Regions from separate parts of the Homo sapiens genome. Here all the other regions are linked to region 1. Evidence: promoter capture Hi-C in 16 types of primary human blood cells and fetal thymus (Javierre and others, 2016). All regions are on one chromosome and are shown on one strand. Each heading gives the region's core, a stretch centred on a gene start or on the middle of the fragment in contact. The rest is flanking DNA. Distances are from core to core; before and after follow the strand shown. Region 1 holds the start of CNPPD1 (cyclin Pas1/PHO80 domain containing 1). Region 2 overlaps TUBA4B (tubulin alpha 4b). Region 3 overlaps STK16 (serine/threonine kinase 16). Region 4 overlaps NHEJ1 (non-homologous end joining factor 1).

Region 1 (2,961 bases), core at 108-2,607:
CCTATCCTCATTTCCAGGCTCACCGGGACACATGAGCTACATATTTCTTCTGGAGTCGGCGAATAGGGCTGGGGGCTGCCTTCTGGAGCAGTTCGACAGCAATGTCTGCAAGGGACAGAAGGAAGGCCGAGTGAGCAAACAAGCACCCACACCCAACACACCAGTCCCCACTGCTAGCAGAAGACCCAGATCTGTATTTTCTGAGGCCTTGGGGACAGGACCATAGTAACAAAATAGAGATCAAATTCTCACACACTGAGACAAAAAGCCCATTCCAAGTTCGAATTTCAGCTCATTCTAACAGGAAAGCTTATTGCCCTGTCACATCAAACTATCCAGATTTATCTGTCACTGCTGTTCATCTGTGGCATAAACATGCCTTGTTTACTTGGGGAACATATGATGGATATCCTTCGAAAATTAGCTTTTCAATATATAAATCAAGAGTGATTTGTATAGATATATGTGGCAGCAATGTTTTTTATTCATTTGGGCTAAAAGAATGGGAAATGCAAACTGCCCTCTTGAACCAAGTACCAACGAGCTAGCAATGAAGAGACAGTGTAGCCACGGGGCAAACCTCGAGCCATTTTCTGCCTGATGACAATCCCATTTTCATGCTTCTCACTTGTCCAGTCACACAACACTGCCTAACCTGCCACCGGGCTGGAGAGCTCCTCCAGGCTACAGTCGGCTTCCCAGTCCCAGCCATAGTAGAGCCTCCTTCGGATCCGGGCACTCAGCTTCTGGTGTCCTGGGAGGAACTGAAACAGGGCAGGGGCAGCGGAGGGTGAAGGGCACGGAAAGGTATGATGCAGATCCTGGCTCTGGGCTGGAAGGCGGGGCAGGGGACAGGCCGGCCTCGCTGCTAGGGGGCCCGTGCCTTACCCAGACCCGCGTTCTGTAAATCGCTTGCCAATGGCAGCCTGGTCCATAGAGGGAGGAATGCCCCCACCCCCATCGAGGGTTCCCCGGGAGAAGTTCTCCGAGAAGGGCCCTCGTGTGGCCACCCCTACGCCCATTCCTATACTCCGCGGCTCTCCCTCCCGGCCCAAGCAGCCGCGGCCTCAAGGAAGCACTGCTCGAGCAGCTGCCGCCCAGTCCCGGCACAGCAGTCAGGCGAGCTCGCAGCGCCGCTCAGGCCGGGAGGGGCGCGCCGGGAGGCCGGGGAGGGGGCGGGACCCCCACTCACCGTGAAGTCCTGGAAGCCGGCGAGGGAGAAGGTGCCTTCTTCGTCCAGCAGGAGCCCGGTCAGGTCCATCGCGCCGCCAGTCGCCGCCCTGCGAAGGTGAACGGAAGGAAACGAGTTGTAGGGGGCTCGCGGAGCTGTCCTTGCCCGCCTGTCCACCTGCCAGCCTGCCTCCCCGGGGCGGGCCGCCGTCCTCGCCCTCGCCCTCGCAGCTCCCTCCCCCCGGCGGCGGAAGGCGGGGCCCGGGCTGAACTGGGCGCCTCTTCCTGTTCCGCCCCGGGCTTGGCGCGGCGCGCGGGGGCCCTAGGCCCGGGAAGGGAGGTGTCAAGCGTCCGTGCGACGCTCACCTCGCGGAGCAGAAAGGAGATGCGGCTGCGAGGCGCGTACTCCGCCTGTGCCGCGTCCGCCCGGCGTTTACAAGCCGCGGGGGTGCCGCCTGCAAGTCAGCGCCTGGCACTTCCTGCCGCCCATCTGGCCCAGCCTCCCGCCCCGACCCGCGGGCAGGAACCGGACTCGAACTCCTGGTCTCACGGAACGTGGCCAAGCCCCAGGCGCCTCTGAGAAATGGGGACAATTCGTAGGGGGGACCACGCCGCACTGAGGATGAACAAGCCAGGCGTAGCAATGGAGAAGTTAATGTGAATAAGACGAAACGCACAACAGGAAGTTGTTCCCAGTTGCTTTTTAGGAGAGATATTATACATACTCAGCAATGCATATGAAAAGCGTCTGAAAGGACACACAGGAAATTTAGCAGTGGGTGAACTATGAAAAGGAAGAGAAACTCAGGGTGTTTTTTTTTTTTACTGTAATTTGAACTTTTAAACCTAAGGCTACTGAGGAAATTCTGTGATCTTAAGCGAATGTAAGGCCTCAAAACGTGTCAACACGTCCACCCAAAAGTAAACTGCATCTACCCAAGGTTTTGTGTTGAAACCCACCTCCCGCCTCCGATCTCATGCTTGAGTAGGCCGAGGTGGGAAGAAGCTCCGATATGTGGAAGTGGGAAAGTTTAAGGAGATAGGAAAGAAACAACTTTTCTGAGTAGATGTTGTTTTCGAGTCTGTCGAGTCAAGCGCTGGTGTGTGTTTGTTTACCCACTGAGGGGAGGGAACTGGGAGGACCAGTGCGTTGAGGGTTGGTTGAGTAATGGGACGGCCACCGCCCTTCCCGAGCGAGCAGAAGCAGACCCTACCGGGGATACTGGGAATCTGGAAGCCCACTTCCTGCCCCACACGGGGATACCGGGGCAGCACCACACTCCCTAGCCGCCCTGCCTACTGTGGGATAAGAAAACGGGCTCGACTGCCTGGACCTAGACCCGGACTCGGAACCCGGGGTACTTCGTCAACCAGAAAACGAACCTGTGTAGGCGCAGTGTCAGCGGCAGCCGCCGGGGCGCATGCGCGGCCCGCCCTATCCGGGGGGGGGGGGGTTAGGCCGCGTCACGTGACGGGCTCAGCGCTCCGCAGTCACGTGACGCTCGTCCGCAACCTCTGCTGTCCTCCGCGGCGCCCCCTTCCGCCTGACGCGCCCCCGGCGGCGGCCGCGCAGCCCTGGCTCCTCGCGGGCTCGGGCGGCGGCTGCGGCGGGGCTATGGCGAGCGGCGGTGGCGGGGGTAACACTGGCGCGGGTGGGGGGCCGGGGATGGGCCTGAGCCTGGGCCTGGGTCTGGGTCTGAGCCTAGGCATGAGTGAGGCCACCAGTGAGGCAGAGGAGGAGGCGGCCACGGCCGAGGCGGTGGGACGCCTGGCCACGACGCTGTGGCTGCG
Region 2 (2,996 bases), core at 492-2,991, 91 kb after region 1:
CCTCAGCTGGCTCCCCTGTTTGGGTGCAGGCCCAGAGCTTGCCTCGTACTCTGTGACCAAGTCAACAGGCCCTGCCCTCCCAGGCCGTTTCTAACAACATCCACCTGCTGAGAGCCACCCAGCGAGTATAAGGAGGAGGCTGGCTGGCCGCTGCAGGCCTCTCACAGATCTATCCCTGCTCACTATCCTGCAGCAGACAGAGAGACAAGACCCCAGCCAGCCCCTGTCCAGGCAGCATGGTGAGTAGAAGGGGCCTTGGGGGGACTGAGCATGCAAGTGAGGGTCCCAGTGGGCCCAAGATATCTGGCGTGAAGGTACCTTGGGAGTCCACATGGTGATGGGGCTACAGTATGTGGCGAGGTGGGGAGAGGGAAAGAGACTTCCAGATGTGGCTGTGGCCCCCAAATGTGCAGGTGTGGGGGGCATCACAGGGGGTAGGGAAGGAAAGTTTAATGGTAACCAGGTTGTGGGGCTGAGCCTAGGCTGAGAAGCAGGGCTGCTGAGGGGGTCTGAATTTAGGTGTGGGGAGTGTGGGGGAAGCAGGACTTGAGCAGAAAGTGTAGGCGATTTCCTCTGCTGGCTGAGGATCTCCAGACCCTGGGCCTTGCCACAGGTTCACTGTTGGGCTCTGATCCCACCTTCCCACCATGGGGACACATCCTCCATGGAAGCTTCTCCCCTCTGGTTCCTCCCTCCACCCTGCCCATCTGCTGTGCCTTTGTCTGACCTCTCATGTCAGTTACAGATCAGTGGGGAGAAGAAGGAGGAGGGAAAAGGGGGTGCTCCCATCTGTCAAGAGCTGGCTGTGCCTGGGGCTTATTTGATATCTTTTACCCACCTCCCTACCAGGCAGGATAGAAGAACAGTTAAGAGCATGGTTGGTGCCAGGCCATCCCTGCTCTAAATATTCTTGGTTTTGCTCATGGCCTTGAGCAAGCTACTTGACTTCTCTGAGGGTCGGTTTCCTCATCTATAAATTGGGGGTAATAAAACTACCTACCTAAGGTGAATGTGGTAAAGATTAAATGAGATAATGTGTATAAAGTGCCACCTTCACCTGGCACCTTATTAGTGCTTAATAAGCAGAACTAAGCAATGTAACAACACAGGCCGCCGGCTATGAGATTCTTCTCTTTCTACAGTCATGAAAAAGGTGCTAGGGAAGCTGAGGTGAAATGACTTGTATTGGATCACAGAGAGATGGGGGTTTGAGGCCAGGTCTGTGTGACTCCAGAGGCTGAGTTCTTTTTTTTGTTTTTTTTTTTTTGAGACGGAGTCTCATTCTGGAGTGCAGTGGCGCAATCTCGGCTCACTGCAACCTCTGCCTCCCGGGTTCAAGCGATTCTCCTGCCTCAGCCACCCAAGTAGCTGGGACTACAGGCGCTTGCCACCACATCTGGCTAATTTTTGTATTTTGAGTAGAGACAAGGTTTCACTATGTTGGCCAGGATGGTCTCAATCGCCTGACCTTGTGATCTGCCCACCTCGGCCTCCTAAAGTGTTGGGATTACAGGCGTGAGCCACTGCACCCGGCCAGGGGCTGAGTTCTTTGCCCCAAAACTGCTGCCTCCAGTGTGAGACATCATTCCCAGAGGGGCCAGAGACACCTTGCATGGGCTAGTAGTTCTGGGGGCCAGGACGATGTCTGGGTCTGTGGACAGAACTGGCTGGTCAGGCTCAGAGGTGCAGCACCAGGCAGGTGATTGGTGAGCCAAGGCAGCCCCAGGATTGGACCTGGGATTTCTCCTGTCCTTGAGGTCTCAGCTCAACTCATTATCTTTTTTTTTTTTTTTTTTTTTGAGATGGAGTCTCACTCTGTTGCCCTGGCTGGAGTGCAGTGATGCAATCTCGGCTCACTGCAACCTCCACCTTCTGGGTTCAAGCAATTCTCCTGCCTCAGCCTCCCGAGTAGCTGGGATTATAAGCATACACCATTTTTGTATTTTTAGTGGAGAGGGGGTTTCACCATGTTGGTCAGGATGGTCTCGAGCTCCTGACCTCAAGTGATCCACCTGCCTTGGCCTCCCAAAGTGCTGGGATTACAGGCTTGAGCCACTGCGCCCAGCCTCAATTCATTACCTTCTCTTACTATGACATCAGGGATTGAGGGTGGGAAATTGGAAGGGGAACCCAACATGCATGGCACACCCTAGTGTGTGTTAGGCAGTGGGCCAGGCACTTTGCATGCATTCTTTCATTTAATTCTCATAGTTTTTCTAGGAGGGGCTCTTATTATTGTCTACATTTCAAAAGGAGAACATTGACAAAGAGGTTAAGATTTTTGCTCAAGACAAGTAGAGAAGTAATTGGGCTGGAATACAGATTATTTATGGATTAATCTCAGTCATCTAAAAATCATGAAAAGTCAGGCCTTTGTGTTATATAAAAATAGTCAATGAAGTGTTACATTTTTGGAGAAGTCATCCTCATTAAACAATTAAGAAATATTTCAGGAATGCAAAAAGGTATAAATAATAACATGATAGGCTGGGCGGCGGTGGCTCATGCCTGTAATCCCAGTACTTTGGGAAGCCAAGGCAGGTAGACTGCTTGACCCCAGGAGTTTAAGACCCACTTGGGAAAGATGGCGAGACCTGTCTCTACAAAAAAATTTAAAACTTAGCCAGGCATGGTGGTGCATGCCTGTAGTCCCAGCTACTCGGGAGGCTGAGACAGGAGGATCCCTTGAGCCCAGGAGTCCAAGACTGCTGTAGTTAACTATGATCACATCACTGTACTCTAGCCTGGGTGACAAAGTGAGATTCTGTCTCAAGAAAAAAAGAAAAGAATAATGTGATGAACAGCAGCTATCAAGCTTGAGAAATAGAATCTGTCTCCAATTGCATCTATCTGCTTCCCCTGCCAGAGAGCACCATTATTCCAAATTTGGAGTTAATGTCTCCTGTGCTTTATCTTTGTACTATTTTCCCTTGCTTCCCTCACCAATGGCTCCTAATTTCTTTCTGGACACTGGTGGGTAGATTATCTTGCACTTC
Region 3 (3,330 bases), core at 288-2,787, 74 kb after region 1:
TGGTTAATGATTAATGAGGCAGTGTGGTGTGGCAGTATCCAGCTGCCACTTCCTGCCTACTCTGCTGAGTAAACAGGGGCCCTGTCTTAGCTGGGCTTCAAACCTGTTCCCTAGGGAAGGGCTCTGTTCCCTGAATCACCAGGGAGGAAAGGCAAGGGCAGGGTTGGCATCTCCTGCTCTTTTGTGATCCAAGCCTCCTCCCCCGAACCATGTCTACCCCACAGTATGACATCAGCATGGGGCCTGGGGCTCCTGTTAGCAAAGTTGAAGCTTTCCCCAGGGCCCTAGCAGGAGTCTCCCACTAGCTAGCACAGAGGCTGAGGCCAGAAAGAAATCACAAACAGAGGGGAGATGACCTGACTTTTAATGGCACAGCCCCAGCTCCAGCAAAGCAGCAAGACAGGAAGCTATGCAAAGCTGCTCAGAGGTGCAGTGGCACAAACAACTCTAGGAGATCGCCTGTGTTCCCTCCCATCCCCCAAGCTTATGACGTGGCTCCATGCCCAGGAACTCTGGGCCAGCCCAGCCCCACTCCCAAACCCTCATAATGCACAGAGGAGCCTGGGCCAAGCCTTGCTTCCAGAGTTGGTAAATGTAGAGGCAGCAGGAAGAACAGGGTAGCAGTCTAACTTTCAAAGACAGAAACCACTGGATTATACTCCTACTTGGAAAGGAGCTGAAGACTCATCCTTCAACAGTTTGTGCCTGGATTTTGGTCCTCATTTCCTCCCTATACTGAGTAACCCTAGGACTTCAATTTAAAGTCCCTGGGGTTATGCTTCCTGGGCCTGGCAAGAACCCCTTTGCAGGTCTCACCTTCAGCGATGGAAGGGATAAGGGTCATGAACAGCAAACAGAGCAGCAGCAGCATGAAGGGGAAGGCAGCAGAAGCTCAAGCACTCAGAGGGAACAAGAAACCGTGCAAGGAAACTGTTTATTTCGAAAGGATTTTGCAATAAACATAGTGAATAGGCTCCAGGCAGCTGCTTTATTCTTCTCCCTCATCCTCGTCCTCATAGGAGTCGATGCCCACCTCCTCATAATCCTTCTCCAGGGCAGCCATATCCTCACGGGCCTCGGAGAACTCACCCTCCTCCATGCCCTCACCCACATACCAGTGCACAAACGCCCTCTTGGCATACATCAGGTCGAACTTGTGGTCCAGGCGGGCCCAGGCCTCGGCGATGGCGGTCGTGTTGCTCAGCATGCACACGGCACGCTGCACCTTGGCCAGGTCACCCCCAGGCACCACAGTGGGAGGCTGGTAGTTGATACCAACCTTGAAGCCTGTGGGGCACCAGTCCACAAACTGAATGCTGCGCTTGGTCTTGATGGCGGCAATGGCAGCGTTGACATCCTTGGGCACCACATCTCCACGGTACAGCAGGCAGCAGGCCATGTACTTGCCGTGCCGGGGATCACACTTTACCATCTGGTTGGCAGGCTCAAAGCAGGCATTGGTGATCTCTGCCACCGACAGCTGCTCGTGGTATGCCTTTTCTGCAGAGATGACTGGTGCATAGGTGGCCAGGGGGAAGTGGATGCGAGGGTAGGGCACCAGGTTGGTCTGGAACTCTGTCAGGTCCACATTGAGGGCCCCGTCAAAGCGCAGAGAAGCTGTGATGGAGGAGACAATTTGGCTAATGAGGCGATTGAGGTTGGTGTAGGTTGGGCGCTCGATGTCTAGGTTGCGGCGGCAGATGTCATAGATTGCTTCGTTGTCCACCATGAAGGCACAGTCTGAGTGCTCCAGGGTGGTGTGGGTGGTCAGGATAGAGTTGTAGGGCTCGACCACGGCTGTAGACACCTGGGGGGCTGGGTAGATGGAGAATTCCAGCTTGGATTTCTTGCCATAGTCAACAGAGAGCCGCTCCATCAGGAGTGAGGTGAAGCCAGAGCCAGTGCCCCCACCAAAGCTGTGGAACACCAGGAAGCCCTGAAGTCCTGTGCACTGGTCAGACTGAAAGGCAAGAACGAGAAAGAACAGTTTAGGTAGGGGAGGGGCCTGAGGGACTCTATCACCTGGCTCCATAAAGCGTAAGATACATCAGCAGTCAGGGCAAATACTGAGGATGCCATAGCAGCACCACACTCGAGACCATGTATAGTTAGAGATGACCTCCTGAAAGGATCTGAAAAAAAATATTCCTGACCATTAGCACAGTCTCAAAAGTTCCCTCCCTCCCAAGACACACTCTCACCAGCTTGCGGATCCGATCCAGCACTGGGTCAATGATCTCCTTGCCAATGGTATAGTGACCACGGGCATAGTTGTTGGCAGCATCCTCTTTCCCAGTGATGAGCTGCTCTGGGTGGAAGAGCTGTCGGTATGGGCCATTTCGGATCTCATCTGGAAGGGCAAAAACCACAAAGCTATGCTCAGCAGGGACCTTCCTCCCCCAGGGTGGTAGCTGTGGCCAGATGCATGGAAGGACTCATCCTCCTGCCAGCCTGAGATACCAGAGTGTGAGAGAAACCCAGACCAGCTGCCCAGGCCAGTCTCAGATCAGCTTGCCTTCTGCAGCTTCAAGTACGGCTAGGAATTTTCAGGGCTAGGAATGCCTGGTCTAAATACCCTCTCTCTCCAGGGAGAAGCTTTGAGTCATGCTCCACCCCCTTCAATTTTGTCCCCACTTCCTCTCACCAATGACCGTAGGCTCCAGATCCACAAAAACTGCCCGGGGTACGTGTTTTCCAGCACCAGTTTCACAGAAGAAGGTGGTGAAGGAGTCGTCCCCTCCACCAATGGTCTTGTCACTGGGCATCTGCCCATCAGGCTGAATCCCATGTTCCAAGCAATAGAGCTCCCAGCAGGCATTGCCCATCTGGACACCTGCCTGCCCCACGTGGACTGAGATGCATTCACGCTGAGGGATAGAGAGAGGGGACACAGCATGAGCCCCACATCCACAAGTCCTCACCTTGCGAGTCTCTCTTCCACCCTATCATCTACCAGCTAGGATGACTCAGTTGGCAAGAGTGGAGGGTTGGGGCTGGGCAGAGGTGAGAAGAGAGTAGCAGCCTGCCCGGGCTCCCAGGTACAGGACTCCCCACCTGGAGGCACCCAGCAATGCAGGCCAACCTCTTAGCCCACTTCTCAGTGGGGAATCTGTCAAGTGAGCACTGTGGCTCCACATGACAAAAGGTTTCCTAGAGGTATGGGTTTACAGCTAGAGGCCCCCCCCCCACTTGATTAATTATTTGCTTTGAGTATGAACAGCTAGAATTCATAGAACCCTTTCCCTCTTTCTTTCCTGTAAGCTGCAGAGGTGTCTCAGCCATCCAATCTGGCATCAACTGACCACACGCCATCAGGATGCCCTCCTCCCT
Region 4 (2,960 bases), core at 105-2,604, 100 kb before region 1:
AAAAATTAGAAGACAGAAACTACTTCACAGTAGAGCTTAGAAAAACATATCCTGATTGTATCAAAACCTAGTTGACATAAAATTATATTTGTTAATGGTATAATATCCCTGAAGTGATATTTTCTGAGTTAGGGTTAAAACTGACCCTGTTCTCAAAGAGTATAACCTAATGAAAGGATGAAAACAGAAAAGTGCACAGGAAGTGTGTCTATTAACACAGTCTACATTAACAGCATAAGCAGAACAGACAAAGTGAGCTTACCATATCATGAGGAAGGGCTATTAAGAGAATTTAGGCTTACTCTATACTCTCTGGAGCGAATCTGTGTAGTTTTGTAAGTAGGAGAAAATGAGAGACAGAATAAACAGAGAGAGGAAAATGCTCCTAGTGACAATGTAAGGAACGAAACCAGGAGGAGCAGCACAGCCTTTTCCATTCCCCACTCCTCCCGCCAGCTTTGTACAGAGTACACAAGGGGCCCCTGCTTATCTCCCAACAAACGTGGGCTAAGGAGGAGGTAAGGGCTTGGGAAAATGGGAGGTCTAAGTGAAAAGGAAGGAAAGAAAAGGGAGTCCAAATGTACCGCTGGATAAAAACGAGCAGCAGTAGGGCTGAGTATCAAGAGATGTGAGCATCTCTCCTTCCCCCAGTGCTCACTGTGGGTGCGCTACACCAGGCCTGTGGAAGGATTTTGGTCTCAACAGGCTAGACTCTTTCCAGTTCAGAGCATAGAAGCACAGATCTCACTCTTCGCCACCTTACACCATAGGAATTCGCTTCTCAGGAATCAGGGAAAGATGGAGACTAGAAGCTTTCTTCCTGCCTTCTCAATAACTTTACTATCCCTTGGAAATCCTCCTTGATCTGGGAGACTGGCTGCCTGGTGACAAGAGAAGAGAATGACCCTAGTGATATCTTTTAGGACCCAGCCTGAGCTCTGCTTTTAAGGGTTGCTGGGGAAGCCCCCACTGAGGCATGAGAAAAGGAGGTGCTACCCAGCTAGAGTGGAAAGGGATGAGGCTTTCTCTCCAAGCAGGGAGCATGCCTGTCCTAGCTAACTATGGGGGACCAGCCGGCAAGGCCAAGTAGGCCTTGCAATCTAGGTGGCGCTATTTCTCTACTTTTTAGGTCAAGTTCCTGCAGGAACTTCCTCGAGGTCCCAAGTCCTGCTCCTGGTTTGCTGGCTTGCTCGTGTAAACCACCTTATATTATTTTTTTTTCTAAAAATACTCCAAAGCAATTGAAAGAGTCCCTTCTCCCACCAGCCAGCCCTGGCCCCAGCCCCAGCCCCGGGGAGCGGGCGGGTAGGCGGGGAGGTGGGCCACTGCTTTATTAAACACAGGGAAAACTAATATTTACGGAATAAAATTTATGGAGCAGCCACGAGAATTCGACCCTTTTATGTGCATGTAGAGTGGGGGTTGGGCCAGGCTGGGGGCCTCAGGGAGGGGCCCAAGCCAGGGGGCAGGGCTGGAATACAGCCTGGCTAGGCCAATTTGTCAAAGCAGGGATTTCCCTGGAGTTGCCTTAGGATGAATGATTCTCAACCACTACCCCTAGCTTTGCGGGGTAAGGGCTTCGGGGCAAGAATGCCTGTGGCAGGGCCTCTGGTAGCAATGTTTCTCTAACAACGTATTTAAGCAATACCCCAATGGAGACAGCAACCTTTGGGGATGATGGGGGCAGTGGATGGAAGGTTACTAGCTATATTCTTACTTAACCTTTTTAGAAAGTCACACATTCTTTTTGAGAACATCAACAAAATTTTGCTCTTAAGATTTTACCTACAATTTTGAGGGATTCACAGGCCTCTGGCCCCGCTGTGATGAAAAATGTCTTGAGTCTGTGCTGTTACAGTACAGGGAATGCCCAGGGTGAAGAACCGGTATTTTCTCCAAGCTTGCAGGGGAAGCCTTTCCATTTTCCATGTGCCTTGTAGATACTGAAATCTGACTATCTAAATTATGCTGAAAAGAAACGAAAGATCGGCCAGGCACAGTGGCTCAAACGTGTAATCCCAGCACTTTGGGAGGCCGAGGCAGGTAGATCACCTGAGGTCAGGAGTTCGAGACCAGCCTAGCCAACATGGTGAAACCCTGTCTCTACAAAAAATACAAAAATTAGCCGGGCTTGGTGGCAGGCATCTAATCCCAGCTACTCGGGAGGCTGAGGCAGGAGAATCACTTGAACACAGGAGGTGGAGTTTGCAGTGAGCCAAAATTGTGCGATTGTACTCCAGCCTAGGCAACAAGAGCAAGACTCCATTAAAAAAAAAAAAAAGTAACAAAAGAGCAAAGTAAGCCAGCTGATAGGCTGTTTTTATATAGTTCCCAATTCACTTCGATGACAGTCACTACCACACAGCACACTCTAGGGTCCTGTGGTCTGGGGGTAAAGAAAAGTTATCAGCAGTGACTGGGAATGAGCCTTGGTGGAGATCTCAGACTCTGCTAGCAGGAAAAAGCATGAGGGTAAGTCCTGGAGTCCTCAAGAGCTCCTTCCTTGAAGAGCCCCTGGGGAGCAGACATCCTATTGAAAAGAGGCAAGGTCATGGGATAAGGAGGTTTACAGTGGGAGACTGGAAAGAAGAACCTAATGTCCTTTCTGGAAAATAAATGTTTTCATTAGTGTATATAATAATGCTGTTAAGAACTCAGCTGTCTGGGCTTAAATTCTGGCTGTCACTTATTAGCTGTATGACCTTTGATAAGTCACTTACTCACTTCAGGATCCAATTTCTTAATGGGTTAACAGCATCTTCCTCATATGATGCTATGAGGATCAATGTCAAGTGCTCATTAGAGTAGCTGGTATACATTAACTGCTCAATAAATGTTAGCTATTTATTATTGTTGTTCTTATTATAATTATTTTATTATTGTTTGATCATCTTCTCTCGAGACTTGACATCAGGACAGAAACGCCAGTATATATACAGGATATTTGAATAAGGAGGCAT

The links. Contacts are between HindIII fragments. The CHiCAGO score rates a contact against its expected background, and 5 or more counts as called.
Region 2: a fragment that was not itself captured here is called in contact with the fragment with the promoter of CNPPD1 in region 1 in 7 of 17 cell types (neutrophils, naive B cells, fetal thymus and 4 more); the score reaches 8.4 in neutrophils.
Region 3: a fragment that was not itself captured here is called in contact with the fragment with the promoter of CNPPD1 in region 1 in 17 of 17 cell types (fetal thymus, naive CD4 T cells, naive B cells and 14 more); the score reaches 16.4 in fetal thymus.
Region 4: a contact is called between a fragment that was not itself captured here and the fragment with the promoter of CNPPD1 in region 1, in 1 of 17 cell types (M2 macrophages). The highest score is 5.5, in M2 macrophages.

What each region holds. Positions count from the first base shown.
Region 1 is chr2:219,175,568-219,178,528 of GRCh38, forward strand. CNPPD1 (cyclin Pas1/PHO80 domain containing 1) reads right to left here and starts at 1,358. Exons shown (of 8, transcript NM_015680.6): 1 at 1,193-1,358; 2 at 656-764; 3 at 24-105. The coding sequence starts at 1,261. It overlaps RETREG2 (reticulophagy regulator family member 2), which reads left to right and starts at 2,708. Exons shown (of 9, transcript NM_024293.6): 1 at 2,708-2,961. The coding sequence starts at 2,786. RefSeq lists silencers at 980-1,274, 1,113-1,172, 1,293-1,502, 1,573-1,622, 2,613-2,692 and 1 more and an enhancer at 2,403-2,903. The HindIII fragment of the contact is 4,554 bases long and covers 308-2,961 here.
Region 2 is chr2:219,266,328-219,269,323 of GRCh38, forward strand. It overlaps TUBA4B (tubulin alpha 4b), which reads left to right. Exons shown (of 4, transcript NM_001355221.1): 2 at 194-239. Among named protein-coding and RNA genes, the nearest start is that of DNAJB2, 12 kb to the right of the region's middle. The HindIII fragment of the contact is 2,144 bases long and covers 670-2,813 here.
Region 3 is chr2:219,249,364-219,252,693 of GRCh38, forward strand. It overlaps STK16 (serine/threonine kinase 16), which reads left to right. Exons shown (of 8, transcript NM_001330213.2): 8 at 1-974. TUBA4A (tubulin alpha 4a) reads right to left here. Exons shown (of 4, transcript NM_006000.3): 2 at 2,645-2,867; 3 at 2,202-2,350; 4 at 347-1,960. The coding sequence ends at 989. Among named protein-coding and RNA genes, the nearest start is that of TUBA4B, 2.2 kb to the right of the region's middle. RefSeq lists enhancers at 620-709, 750-869. The HindIII fragment of the contact is 2,112 bases long and covers 482-2,593 here.
Region 4 is chr2:219,072,474-219,075,433 of GRCh38, forward strand. It overlaps NHEJ1 (non-homologous end joining factor 1), which reads right to left. Exons shown (of 8, transcript NM_024782.3): 8 at 1-2,960. Among named protein-coding and RNA genes, the nearest start is that of IHH, 13 kb to the left of the region's middle. The HindIII fragment of the contact is 1,088 bases long and covers 811-1,898 here.